Regions from separate parts of the Homo sapiens genome. Here region 1 is linked to region 2. Evidence: promoter capture Hi-C in human tissues and cell types (Jung and others, 2019). All regions are on one chromosome and are shown on one strand. The core of a region is centred on a gene start or on the middle of the fragment in contact, and the rest is flanking DNA. Distances in the headings are between cores, read along the strand shown.

Evidence for each region. The method cuts DNA at HindIII sites, captures the fragments that hold promoters and counts their contacts. A contact is called where the count stands out against the background at its distance.
Region 1: a contact is called between a fragment that was not itself captured here and the fragment with the promoter of HSPB1 in region 2, in 1 of the 25 tissues and cell types used here (spleen).

Annotation. Positions count from the first base shown.
Region 1 is chr7:77,357,515-77,365,234 of GRCh38, reverse strand. GSAP (gamma-secretase activating protein) reads left to right here. Exons shown (of 31, transcript NM_017439.4): 13 at 2,575-2,652; 14 at 4,334-4,411. Among named protein-coding and RNA genes, the nearest start is that of GSAP, 55 kb to the left of the region's middle. The HindIII fragment of the contact is 7,746 bases long and covers 1-6,534 here.
Region 2 is chr7:76,297,155-76,303,922 of GRCh38, reverse strand. HSPB1 (heat shock protein family B (small) member 1) reads right to left here and starts at 1,250. Exons shown (of 3, transcript NM_001540.5): 1 at 847-1,250; 2 at 58-121. The coding sequence starts at 1,210. RefSeq lists a silencer at 4,217-4,511. The HindIII fragment of the contact is 16,042 bases long and covers 1-6,768 here.

The DNA of each region.
Region 1 (7,720 bases), core at 1,412-3,911, 1.1 Mb before region 2:
AAAAATTCCTGTAGTCCCAGCTCTTTGGGAGGCCAAAGTAGGAAGATCACATGAGCCCAGGGAGTTCAAGACCACCCTGGGTAACATAGACTCCATCTCTTAAAAAAAATAAAATAATTAGCCAGGCACACATGTAGTCCTAGCTATTTGGAAGGCTGAAGTGGGAGGATTGTTTGAGCCTGGGAGGTTAAGGCTACAGTGAGCCATGTTTGCACCACTGCACTCCAGCCTGGGCAACAGAGTGAGACTTTGTCTCAGATAAATAGTGCTTCAGTCATATTATCCACATTTTGAGTGTTCAGTGACTACATGTGGCTAGTTGCCACCATATTGGACTATACAGGTATATAACATTTCCATTGTCAAAGACAGTTCTGTTGGATAGCTTCACAGAGCCTGTGTACATACCATTTCAACTTGCTGTGTCTTTTTTTCCCTTTGGGATTGGGTGGGGCAACTAAGCATGACCTAACAATTTGGAAATATTTGCTTATAAGTTCTGGATATGGTTCTTAGAATATGTAATTAGGTACATTTATTCTACATCTCATTTTATTTTATTATTACACTTTAAGTTTTAGGGTACATGTGCACAATGTGCAGGTTAGTTACATGTGTATAAATGTGCCATGCTGGTGTGCTGCACCCATTAACTTGTCATTTAGCATTAGGTATATCTCCTAATGCTATCCCTCCCCCCTCCCCCCACCCCACTACAGTCCCCAGAGTGTGATGTTCCCCTTCCTGTGTCCATGTGTTCTCATTGTTCAGTTTCCACCTATGAGTGAGAATATGCGGTGTTTGGTTTTTTGTTCTTGTGATAGTTTACTGAGAATGTACATCTTACTTTTTTTCAAAATGAGAAAAACTTTCATTCTCTAAAGGATGGAGTGCAGATAGTTTGCTAGAATGGAGGTTATGATCTATGTTGCCATCATGTTCATTTCCCAGGATAGAATCCTAAAAGAATTACTGGGTGAACAGGTATGAATATATTTAACCCTCTGTGAAAGAATTTTTCTGAGATATTGTGTTAGTTGACTCATTCACTACTATTTGAGAATTGTGTAAGAAGCACATGCTCCCTTGACAGTATTTCATTATCATTTAAAAAACTACTTCTAAAGGAAAATTATGGTACCTTGTTTTAATTTTTATTTATTACTAGAGAATCTAAAGTCTTTTTTTTAAGCAATTTCATGTTCCTTGTGATTATAGTATATAAAAGAATGGATAAACAAGTAGTTTTTTGCTGATAATGTTTACTGTATGAAAGCAGTCCAAGTGGTATATGAGACTTTTGTAACTCTTATAATTATTATTTTGTTTATACTTTAGTGATAGATTACTTTTATTCTCAGTGAGTCATGAGTCAGCTGTAATTGTAAAGAAAAGTTGTTATTGTGTGCTCAGTAACCGTAACAGTCATTTTACATCTAATAGAATTGTTACCATGTTATCTGATGAAGTTATTCTTTTTTGCTATTTTGTGTTTAAGATAATTGCAATAAAATGTACTGCTGACAATACTTTGCAGTGTTAAATGTCATTAAAAAGTCATAATTGATAAATATTATAACAGAATACTTATAAATGTCCTTGAATAGCCCTCTTAGGGGAAACTGACTTTTTTTCTACCACGATTCTTTGATAAAGAAACTAATGAAGGAAAGTAGAGGAAACATTGAAATCCACTGAAGTAGAGTAGCGATTGAATTCACACAGCTAGTTAACGTTAGCTCTGGGGCTAGAACTCAGGTTTCCTGACTCCTTGTCAAGTTACTTTCTACCTGTCAATCTCCTATTTCAGTTAATCACATAAATGATAGACATACCTGTTTAAGCATACTGTCCTCAATTGTATGTAGGTCACTGATGGACATTAGTCCATACAGCAGCAGCTGCTAGAGATAATGTACAGTTTCATGCGTTGAGAGAGGTGGGGAAAGTTGAGGGTGTTCTGGAGTGATGGGGTAAGTGAAGGGGGTCAAGACTCACCTGGAAAGGCCACTCTATGCCAAGAGCTCTCCTTTGGCCTTGGGCCAATGCCTTCAGTGACTCAGTTACGGATGGATATGGACTCACATGCCACATTTGTTTTCACTGACCCATAAGATAGATCACACTTTGCCTTTCAATCAAGATAAACTAGAGACTGGTAACTTTCTGTGAAATGAACACATTTTTGATAAACTGGTGTTCACAGCTGTTAGTAATAATTGCAAGGTGACAAGCTAGATAAGGGAGGACAATGCATGCTTACTAGGAGAATCTCATGAAGCTTTGGAAACTGTCTAGAACCCCATTATTTCATATGCAGGAGTATATCTGTGTTCATTTTCCTATCCTTCAATAGCCTGCCACAATATGTTGCTATATAGTGTGCACTAAAAAATTACTGCTTTGAAATTTCTTAGCAACTTGTTAATAGACCACTTCTAGGACTTGGGAATAATCTATGAGGTAAGATGAGACAGGACATCTAAAGGAATAGAAGTAAGTTTAAGTGGTTTAGGAAACTTTATTTATGACATAGATTCTGTTAAACTCTACTAAATATCCTTTTTCTTCTAGGAAGTTTGTGTGTATGTTACAGCCCGAAGTGTGCCTCTTGGGGACAAATCACATATTCAGTGTTTTACATTCATAAAGGTACTTTTCATGTCTTCTTTGTTACTTTTACATAATAACTTTTTCCAAATAGTAGCAAATTAGATAGCTCTTAACAGTGTTATTAGTAATTTTTTGGAGACAGGGTCTCCCTTTGTCACCCAGGCTGGAATGCGGTGGCATGAATACTGCTCACTGAAGCCTCAACCTTATGGTCTCAAGTGATCCTCCCTCCTCAGCCCACCAAGTAGCTGGGACTACAGGCGTGTGCCATCATGCCTAGCTAATTTTTGTATTTTTTGTGGAGATGGGGTTTCACCATGTTGCCCAGGGTGGTCTTGAACTTCTGAGCTCAAGTGATCCACCCGCCTCAGCTTACCAAAGTGTGGGGATTATAGGCATGAGCCACCATGCCCGGCTGAGAGTATTATTACCATGGAATCAATTTTTATCAGTTCATTCTATATCTGTATACTTACAGGATATATATTTCCTGAAGAAAGTTGTCAATGGTGAGTATCAAGTTAGCTAGTTATTTTTATATATCATATATTTTTATCCTGGCCTATATATTTTTCTAGGCTTGTGGACCAATCCTAAGGAAGGTATTTATCCAAAGTGTGTTTATTTGCTTTTTAGTTATCGCTATTTGGAAAGTATCTATAGATTTAACTTACAGAGTTAAATAGGGTTTCAGTTAAAAGCATCCATGATCTCAGACCTCAACAGGTTTTAGATCTAAGATACATTTATTCCATTTCACACATCTATGGCCCAAGATATTGATAAACAATCTAGGGAGAAGCAGTCAAATGCCTAACTAATTTCTCCTGGTTCTGTAGTCAATCACAGTGTGCCCTGTAGTAGTTTTAGTTTGAACCATGCTAAGGAGTTATTGTTTTGCTTGTTTAATTCCTTAAAATGAGTATTTGTGCAGTATATACTATGGGTGTATTTAAATTTTTTTAAAGATAAAGATTTTTCCAATATTTAAAAACAATTATGCCAAGCCACACCAGAGCTGCTTATTCTATAGATGGACCTGATATTACCTCCTCAGGTTAGAGATTAAGGTAAAAAAGTTTAAGAACTTAATGGAGAAGCTAAAGTAACTTCAGAACTAGACATATATTCTATTCATACTTAAGTTGTATAAGTTTGAGATTTTTGTGGAAAATTTTTCACACATTTTTCTAATGGTTAATCTATTGATCAAAGGCAGTAAATAAAACTTTTCTGAAGATTAAGAGTTAGAAAGTAGAGAGGAAAGGCCAATATACTGAGGTTATTAGCTCGACTAATTCCCTTCCTACCTAAAAGTGGGATTTGTAAGTGATTTGGAGAAGTCTCAGAGGGTCTTAATGACTGCACGTGTGTGGCGGTGAGCCTTGAGGAATGTGGGCCAATGAGCCATGTGGTCATCTCTATCTCTTGGATCTTTAAGTAAATTCCTTCAGATCCTCTCCTCCCTGAACAATCCACCTGTCATGGTCTAAGATTATAATAAGCCCAGAGCAACTACTGGAGTGTGACTGCACTCAGATAATCTGCCTTCAATGCTGGTTTTTGGAGAATGAGGGGAACCATGAAATCTAGAAGTCTGAAGATGCCTGCTTACCAGTTTCATGGTCACTGAAAATATAGTGTGTTACATAGTCACTGCCTTGGGTGGAGTTCCAGTTCTTTGTTTAACATTCTCTGGCTTCATATTCTCTCTTTGCAGGACACAGCAAGACCTTCACCACTTCTCTTGAGAATGTTGGGTCACACATGACAAAGGGCATTACTTTTCTCAACCTTGGTGAGTGATGGAGAGATCACACCCCCTGCTCTGAACACTTGTTCCTAGGCATGGTATACCTCAGCCTTCTATACTATCCCATTTCTCATGCCTCTTTGAGACTCGGATTGTGATGACAATCAATGACCCACTTGAAATCTGATGAGAGAAGATTTTCTCTGGAACACACCCTTGCCTCTCAACTCCTTAGCCTTTGGCTTGAAAAGGGTTGGGGGTTGTATCTTCCCTTTTTAGAGAACCTAGGCTGTGAGCTTTCTTATGTTTTTTGGTAGCAGCCTAAAAAGCTATTTGTTAACATAAAAATGATAACTTGTATGAGATGTTCCCAAATAGCCCATGAGAAATAATACATCATGTTATCCCTTGATTATAGAGAGGATGGGGCCTCTGGGAAATTGTCTATTTCCTGTTGCTAATCTTGAAAAGTTTCCAAGTCCCATTAATGATTTATGGATCAGCTTGAGTTGTTTTCATTGAGTAAATATGGCGAAGGGAACCTGAGTATAATGAGGAAAATAAAGAAAGGGTTTGTTGTACCTCCCCACTGAAAGCTGCTTTTCCATGCCAGTTAGGATGTGGGGCACAAAGTTTAGCACAAGACTAAGTAATGATTTACTTGCTTACATATGGAACATGGCATATGGAACATTTCCTTTAAAAAAGGAGTTTCAGGTTTAGAGCATGTAATTCTTTGATATCTTTTTCCATCCCTATTCCACAGTCCATCCACTGTCATGATGCATGTTTGAGAGAGTGCAATGTGAGGAAACTGAGCAAAGTTATTTTTATTTTGAATGATACCATTGATGAGGTTGGATACTTACGCTGAGTGGGCCAGTATGGGCAAATTTTAACATGATCTCTGAATTTGTGGGAAATTGCCTTAGGGAAGCCTGGTTCTACTGCTTCCTGTGATAAGAGAGAGAAATATTATAGAAGGTTTCCTGGGTCTGGGACTTGATTCTTATCAGCAATGCTTTATCAGCATCCCATCTCAAGAGTGATGTGGGAAACTTTCCACTATGAAAACAGCACTTTGTGAGGGCAAAGGTATCCTTCCTTTTTTTACCCCTGGGAATGACTTGCAAAGGGCAGGCAAGATTTAATCTGTGGTCTTTAGCGTGTGGAGAGGCCAGAAATATAAGCTTTGTAAAAATAGGCTATCTTAAACATGTTGTCTTTCCTTCTTAAGCATATTTTATAGGCACAAAATCATAGCCCAGTTTAAAACTGCTGTACAGGTAATTTTTATGACAACAATATTGTTTTGAGTAATATATTTTTTGCTATTACGTGCAATTTCCCTGGACTGTCACCCTATTAAAATGGGCTTATATTGATTAATATATTAAAGAATAATTTTTTGAAAATTTCCATGAACCCCAGACACTTCTATGTAAGAAAGATATGTTTATAAATAATGAGCTACTATTTATTTAATGAATAGTGTATGTTAAGTATTTTACTTGTTATCTTGCTCCCTACAGCAATTCTGATTGGTGATATTATCTCCATTTTACAGATAATGAAACTGAGGCTCAGAAAGAGTGAGCTCTGTGCTTAGGCTTACCTCAGTGTCTTTTATAAGGGACACTAGATTATTAATAGTTTCTTTTTTTTTTTGAGATGGAATCTTGTTCTGTCTCCCAGGCTGGAGTGCAGTGGTGCAATTTCAGCTCACTGTAACTTCCGCCTCCGGGGTTCAAGGTTCCCACTGCAACCTCCACCTCTGCCTCAGCCTCCCAAGTAGCTGGGATTACAGGCGCACGCCACCATGCCTAGCTAATTATTTTGTAGTTTCAGTAGAGGCGATGTTTCACCATCTTGGCCAGGCTGGTCTTGAACTCCTGACCTCGTGATCCACCTGCCTCGGCCTTCCAAAGTGCTGGGATTACAGGCGTGAGCCACTGTGCCTAGCCTATTAATAGTTTCTTTAAACATTTTGTAATTTTTGTTTTCTTAGCATTTTATTTCAACTAAAACTTTATCAAGTGTTTTGTTTAGAGGTTTTGTTCTAGTATTTTTCTGTAATGCAATCCAGAATAAACTGAGAGAAAATGAAGTGAAATGATCCCATCAGTCACCCAAACGGTATGCAACATAACTGCCCAAACTAGAAAAGATAATTAGTGTTGTCAGTGTTACAATCCTAGAGTACTTAATTTAAAAATATTTATTCATAGAATTTGATTTTTATCTTATAGCATTTTTGATATATTTTTAAAAATATAAAACTTCAGTCTAAATGTTTTCAAACATTAAAGTTTTAACTAAATATAAGTGACTAAAGTATTTTCTTGAAATTATAAGAAGTATCCATTTTACATGTGGCATATGAATGTAGGTATAGCCTCTGCTTATGTGTAGTACCTTTTCTTCTCCATATAAGATCTTTATTAGAAAAGTCAGCAAATAAAATATAACAAATTTATACAGAGTTATTTCATCAAATCTTCCCAGCAAACTTTTTTGTTTGTTTGTTTGAGACAGGATCTTGCTCTGTTGCCTAGGCTGGAGTGCAGTGGTATGATCTTGGCTCACTGCAACCTCTGCCTCTGGGCTCAAACTATCCTCCCACCTCAGCCTCCTGAGTAGCTGGGATTACAGGCGCATGCCGCCATGCCCAGCTAATTTTTTATATTTTTTGTAGAGATGGGGTTTTGTCATGCTGCCCAGGCTGGTCTCGAACTCCTGACCTCAAGTAATCCACCTGCCTCAGCCTCCCAAAGTGCTGGGATTACAGGCGTGAGCCACCGTGCCCAGCCAATAAAAATAATACCCTACCTTATTTTGTTTTTAACTGACAAATAGTAATTGTATATGTTTATGGAGTACAATGTGGTGTTTTGATACCTATATACATTGTGGAATGATCAAATCAGGCTAGTTAGCATATCCTGTATTAGTTTATTGTTGCTGTAACAAATTATGGCAAACTTAGAACTTCAAACACCACAAATATTCTCTTAAAGTTCTGTAAAGTTGGAAGTTCGAAATGAGTCTTGAAGGGGCTAAACCAAAGTGTGGGCAGGACTAGTGCCTTCTGGAGGCTCCAGGGAAGAATTTGTTCCTTGCGTCCTCCCTCCAGCCTCTAGAGCAAGCTTGTCCAACCCACAGCCCAGGATGGCTTGAATGTGGCCCAAGACAAATCTGTAAACCTTCTTAAAACATTATTTTTTTGAGGTTTTAATTTTTTTAGCTATCAGCTGTTATTAGTGTATGTTATGTGTGGCCCAAGGCAATTCTTCTTCTTCCCAGTGTGGCCCAGGGAACCCAAAAGATTGGACACCCCTGACTAGAGGCTAGTAT
Region 2 (6,768 bases), core at 1-2,500:
CTTCCCTGACCCCACCCCCACGCCACCCACCCACCCCGACCTGGCGCCAGGACTCACGTGTATTTCCGCGTGAAGCACCGGGAGATGTAGCCATGCTCGTCCTGCCGCTCCTCGTGCTTGCCTTTGGGGGGAAGAGGGAAATCAGACTGCGGGGGAGGGGACTGCCTTTCGGCCCCGCTAGGCCAGAGGCCCCACCTCCTGCTTGGAAGCAGCCAGGACTGCAGGCTGGTAGGGATTAACAGAGGGGGTTGGGGATGGGGGCGTGCCCGCCGGTCTGGGCTCTCAGAAACTTCCGGAAAGTTCTTCGATTCAGAGTTTTGGGAGGAACGGAGCAGGGCGCGGAGCTGGGGAGTGAGCAGTACGCAGGCGCACTTGGAGCCGCGCACACGCCCACTCAGCGGCTAGAAACTGGCACCGCGCCAGGGAACTCCCCGCTTATCTGGGGATGGGGCTGTGGGTGGGAAGGGGACTCTGTAGAAAAGCGCATTTTCTCTCTTCATCGATGATCTTTAAAAAAATTTTTGTTTGCTTTTTTTTTGTAATGGCGCGGGGTCGGGGCGGGGGGGCGCGTCTCGCTATGTTGCCCAGGCTAGTCTTGAACTCCTGGCCTCAAGCGATCCTCCCGTCTCGGCCTCCCAAAGCGCTGGGATTACAGAGCAGAAAGCGCCCTTAGAAGCGACCCGCACTCCCAATTCCTGAGCAAGGGAATCAGGAGTCCTGTTTTTCCCGGTGCTGGGCCAACGTTTAACTCCCCAGGCCCCCGGGACCCCCGTTTCAACCGCACGCCCCCGGCCCTGCCCGCCCTGCTAGCCTCCTCCTCTCCCCTGCAGGAGCAGGGGGGCTCACCGGTGATCTCCACCACGCCATCCTTGGTCTTGACCGTCAGCTCGTCCGGGGCGAAGTGGTTGACATCCAGGGACACGCGCCAGCGGTCCGCAGTGTGCCGGATCTCCGAGACCCCGCTGCTGAGTTGCCGGCTGAGCGCGCGGCTGTAGGCGGGCGCGGCCACTGCGGGGCTCTCGATGGCGGCGGGGGGCAGGGGGCGCACGTAGCCTGGCCAGCTGCTGCCGCCTAACCACTGCGACCACTCCTCCGGCAGCCGGGGCAGCCCGAAGGCCTGGTCGAAGAGGCGGCTATGCGGGTACCAGTCGCGGAAGGGGTCCCAGCTGGGGCCCCGCAGGAGCGAGAAGGGGACGCGGCGCTCGGTCATGCTGGCTGACTCTGCTCTGGACGTCTGCTCAGAAAAGTGCGGGGCGCTGGGCTCGGCTGCGCTTTTATGCTCCTCCAGTCGGGTATTTTTAGCAGGCGGTGTTTGAGGTCTCTATTAATGGCAATGACCCGTTTGAGGGCCGCCCCTCCCCATGCACTCCTCCCCCAGCGTTCAGGGGCCGTGGGCGGGGCGAAGAGGGTTCAGCCCTCATCTGGAACCTTCTCTCGTTAAGGAAAGCAAATGAATTCGAGAGCGCGACGCTGGAGCCGTGCCACGGCAGGGCACTCGCCGGCCCTGGTGCTTAAGCGTTGCTGGCTGTGGCCCGTGGCCAGGGCCGTCCTTCTGTTAAGGAGGACAGAGCCAGACAGGTTGGGTTGGGGCATACAACTGAGAAGTGGCAGAGGCAGGATTGGAACCACACGCGTGTGAGATAGAATGTGATAAAAGGAGTCTGGTGCTTGAGCCCAGGAGTTGAGGCTGCAGTGAGCTATGATCTCACCACTGCACTCCAGCCTAGGCAACAGATCAAAGTCTTGTCTCTCAAAAAAATTTTAAAAAGGGGCTGGGTGCATGGCTCATGCCTGTAATCTCAGCACTTTGGGAGGCCAAGGCAGAAGGGTCCCTTGAGGCTAGGAGTTTGAGACCAGTCTGGGCAACATAGTGAGACCCTACTTCTACCAAAAAATATTTAAAAATTAGCTGGGCATGGTGGTGCATGCCTGTGGCCCCAGCTACTCCAGAGGCTGAAGCAGGAGGATCCTTTGAACCCCGGTGAGTAGAGGCTGTGGTGAGCTGGATTGCACCACTGCACTTCAGCCTGGGCTACAGAGCAAAACCCTGTCTCAAAATAAGTAAATGAATAAATACAAATACAAAAATAAAGCAGTCTGGGCTGGGCGTGGTGGCTCACGCCTGTAATCCCAGCACTTTGGGAGACCGAGGTGGGAGGATCACCAGAGGTCAGGAGTTTGAGACCAGCCTGGCCAACATGGTGAAACCCCATCTCTACTAAAAATACAAAAATTAGCTGGGTGTGGTGGCGGGCGCCTGTAATCGCAGCTGCTGGGGAGGCTGAGGCAGGAGAATTGCTTGAACCCAGAAGGCAGAGGTTGCAGTGAGCCGAGATCTCACCACTGTACTCCAGCCTGGGTGACAGAGTGAGACTCCATCTCAAAAAAAAAAAAAGAAAAAAGAAAAAAGCAATCTAGTAATCTGGTGTGGTTGTTAGGCGTGTGGACTTTGAAGCCAGACTGCCTGAATTCACATCTTTGTTCCATCACTAAGCAGATGAACTTGTGCAAGTTAGATTCTTTGTGCCTCAGTTTCCCCATCTGGAAAATAGAGATGATAATGATGGTAACAGTCATGCATTGCATAAAGATGTGTAAGTCAGCAAGGGACAGCAAATATGAAGGTGGTCCCATAAAATTATATTACTGGCTGGGTGCAGTGGCTGACATCTGTAATCTTAGCACTTTGGGAGGCTGATGTGGGAGGATTACTTGAAGCCAGAAGGCTGGAACAAGCCTGGGCAACACAGTGAGACCCCATCTCTACTAAAATTCAGAACAAATTAGCCAGGCATGGTGGCGTGGACCTGTAGTCCCAGATACTCAGGAGGCTGAGGTGGGAGGAGCACTTGAGCCAAGGAGGTCGAGGCTGCAGTGAGCCTGATGGTGCCACTGCACTCCAGTCCGCATGACAGAACAAGACCCTGTCTCAAAACAAACAAACAAAAACAATTACCGTGTTTTTACTGTACATCTTCTATGTTTTATTTATTTATTTATTTATTTATTTTGAGATGGAGTCTCCCTCTGTCGCCCAGGCTGGAGTGCAGTGGCCTGATCTAGGCTCACTCCAACCTCTACCTCCCAGGTTCAAGTGATTCTTCTGCCTCAGCCTCCTGAGTAGCTGGGACTACAGGCAAGTGCCGCGACACTGGCTAATTTTTGTATTTTTAGTACAGATGGGGTTTCACCATGTTCGCCAGGCTGGTCTTGAACTCCTGACCTCAAGTAATCCACCCGCCTGGGCCTCCCAAAGTGCTAGGATTACAGGCGTGAGCCACCGCGCCTGGCCATCTTCTATCTTTAGAAACACTAATACTTACCCTCATGTTGCAGCTGCCTTCAATATTTGGTGCAGTCATATGCTGTAGAGGTTTGTAGCCTAGGAGCAGTAGGCTAGACCATATGGCTTAGGTGTGTAGTAGGCTAGACCATCTAGGTTTGTGTAAGTCCACTCTGAGATGTTCCCACAATGATGAAATTGCCTAACAAGGAATTTGTTGAATGTGTCTGTTATTAAGTGACTCATGACTGTAATGGGTTGGCCTGAGGATTTGGTGACCTAATGCAGGTGATGACTTTGGCCCGGAGCCTGGTACATCATAATTATTGTTACCTGCCTGGGATTGAAGAGAGGGAAAAGGAAGGAGAATACATGGGGTTTGGCCATTTTCCCCCTTCCCCTAACAGCGCAGCTGGCCCAGATCAGAACCTCCATGGCACAGTGCTGAGAGGGGCCAGGAGGAAGATTACTGTCACATCTCCTACTATATGTATCTTTCCTTAAGAAGCACTGGTTGGCCGGGCGTGGTGGCTCCCACCTGTAATCCCAGCACTTTGAGAGTCTGAGGCAGACTTATTGCCTGGGTTCAGGAGTTCAAGACCAGCCTGGCCAACATGCCGAAACCCCGTGTCTGCCAAAAATACAAAAAATTAGCCAGGTGTGATGGGTGCCTGTAATCCCGGCTACTGGGGAAGCTGAGGCACGAGGATCATTCCAGGAGGCAGAGGTTGCGGGGAGCTGAGATCGCGCCACTGCACTCCAGCCTCGGTGACAGAACGAGACTCTGTCTCAAACAAAAAAGAAAAAACAAAAAAGAAAAAGAAACACTGGCCAGGAACCTCAAATGCCGCAAACTTGAATTAGTCTGGACTTCCTGTGTCATTCTGGGCAAATCCCCTCCTTTCTCTAGGCCTCAGTTTCCCTTTCTGCAGATTTTGATGCCCACATCACAGAGGGAGAGGGGAGCTCCAAGTAGTAGAGTCTGCACAGAAGTGCTTAGAGCCTGGAGCTTGCCCCTTGACCCTACCTCATCCATCTAAACACCAATGGGATCCTGGCTCCTATCTCCCAGCTTGGAGGGAGGGTGCTGCCCTAGGCTCCTGCCACAACCCTGACATTCCCTCTTTCCTGTCTTTGTAGGCATGGCCATTCCAGCCTTCCTTCTCCCCTGACTTAGGTCCCTGTTTTAGTTGTTGTTGTTTTTTTTTTTTTTGTCTTTTTTTTTTTTTTTTTTTTGAGCCAGAGTCTCACTCTATCACTCAGGCTGGAGTGCAGTGGCGCAATCTCAGCTCACTGCAACCTCCGCCTCCTGGGTTCAAGCGATCCTCCTGCCTCAGACTCCCAAGTGGCTGGGATTACAGGCATGTGCCACCATACCCGGCTAATTTCTGTATTTTTAGTAGAAACGGGGTTTCGCCATGTTGGTCTCAAACTCCTGACCTCAAGTGAGCCGCCTGCCTTGGCCTCCCAAAGTGCTGGGATTACAGGCATGAGCCACCACACCCGGCTAATTTTTGTATTTTTAGTAGAAACAGGGTTTCGCCATGTTGGTCTCAAACTCCTGACCTCAAGTCAGCCACCTGTCTCGGCCTCCCAAAGTGCTGGGATTACAGGTGTGAGCCACCGCACCCGGCCCTGTTATCCCTGGTTTTTAGACAAGGAAACTGCTGTGCACAGAGATTAAATGGCTTTCTGCTGTCTCCGGTAAAGTGCTCTCAGAGCCAACCTCCTGCCTCTCTAGTACCCAGGGCCTCCCACTTCTTCTGTCCCACTGTACTTGCTGTCCCTATCCTGGGACTGAGGCTCCACTCCTCCTACTTCTATGGGGAGCCAAGGCCACTGAAGTCTTGCCCTGCCCAGGCCCAGAATCGGGGCAGACTCCAGGCCACTCACCTTGATGAGCTGGGGAAGCAGCAAGTCCTCATGCCTTCTCTGAGCCTCAGTTTCCTTTTTGAGAGAGAGCTCATAAATGCCTTTCTCTCTCTCCTTTTTTTTTTTTTTTTTTGTTGAGACAGAGTCTCGCTGTGTTGCCCAGGCTGGAGTGCAGTGGAGTGATCATAGCTCATTGCAGTCTTGACCTCCTGGGCTCAAGTGATTCTTCTGCTTCAGCCTCCTGAGTCACTGGGACTACAGATGTGTGCCACCACACTTGGCTAATTTTTAAATTTTTTGTAGAGACAGGTGTCGCACCATGTTGCCCAGACTAGTCTTGAACTCCTGGCCCCAAGAGATCTTTCTGCCTAGGCCTCCCAAAGCACTGGGATCACAGGCGTGAGCCACTGCGCCCGACCTAGATGCCTTTCTTTCTTTCTTTTTTTTTTTGAGACGGAGTCTCACTCTGTCACCCAGGCTGGAGTGCAGTGGTGCGATCTTGGCTCACTGCAAGCTCCGCCTCCCGGGTTCACGCCATTCTCCTGCCTCAGCCTCCAGAGTAGCTGGGACTACAGGCGCCCACCACCACGCCCGGCTAATTTTTTGTATTGTTTTTTTTTTTTTTTTAGTAGAGACAGGGTTTCACTGTGTTAGTCAGGATGGTCTTGATCTCCTGGCCTCGTGATCCACCTGCCTCGCCTCCCAGAGTGCTGGGATTACAGGTGTGAGCCACCGGCCCTAGATGCCTTTCTGTCTTACCCACCTGCTCCCCATCAGGGAAGAGCTGGGGCTGGACCATGAATCTGAGATCACTCCTGGAAAGGCCTCTGAACTCCTGGGGCTCTCGGGAGCCAATGGTGGGAGGCAGACAGGACCCCTGCCTTCTACCTCACCTCCCTGGCTGGGTCATTGTCATGAGCCCAGTGGGTCTCATTTGGGAGCTCCTGGTTGACACCCCATGGGACAGCATCAGAAAGCCCCAGGTTTTTGCTCCCCAGTGCTCCCAGCCCCACCCATCCCCAGCTGTATAAAGTCGAGGTGAGGTCAGGAGCCAGGGAGGGCCCTCATCTGCCTCTGCCTGCTCACCTTGGCCCAGACGGGAGCTGGGGGTGCCCCACCCCAGAGGGAGCTGTCAGGTGTGGTTATAAATGCTTCCAGGTGTGGCTCTATCAGGCCCAGCCATGCTCTGGATGGGAGCTGCCAGCCCTTTGTAGACACAAGCTCCCTTCATCTTGCCTGAAACCAGGACGGACTGGATCTATTCCTGCTGCCTGAGAGATTGTGCAACTCAAGGCACCAAACCCACACACTCTGCTCACTCCCTCGGAATTCACGTTCATCTTCAAGGGCTCAGTTTTGTTTTTTTTGAGATGGAGTTTTGCTCTGTTGCGCCGGCTGGAGTGCAGTGGCACAATCTCAGCTCACTACAACCTCTGCTTCCCAGGTTCAAGCAATTCTCCTGCCTCCTGAGTAGGTGGGACTACGGGCGTGCACCACCACGGGCTGGGCGCGGTGGCTAACAGCTGTAATCCCAACACGTTGGGAGGCCGAAGTGGGTGGATTGCTTGAGGTCAGGAGTTCAAGACCAGCCTGGCTAAGGGCTCAGTTCTTGA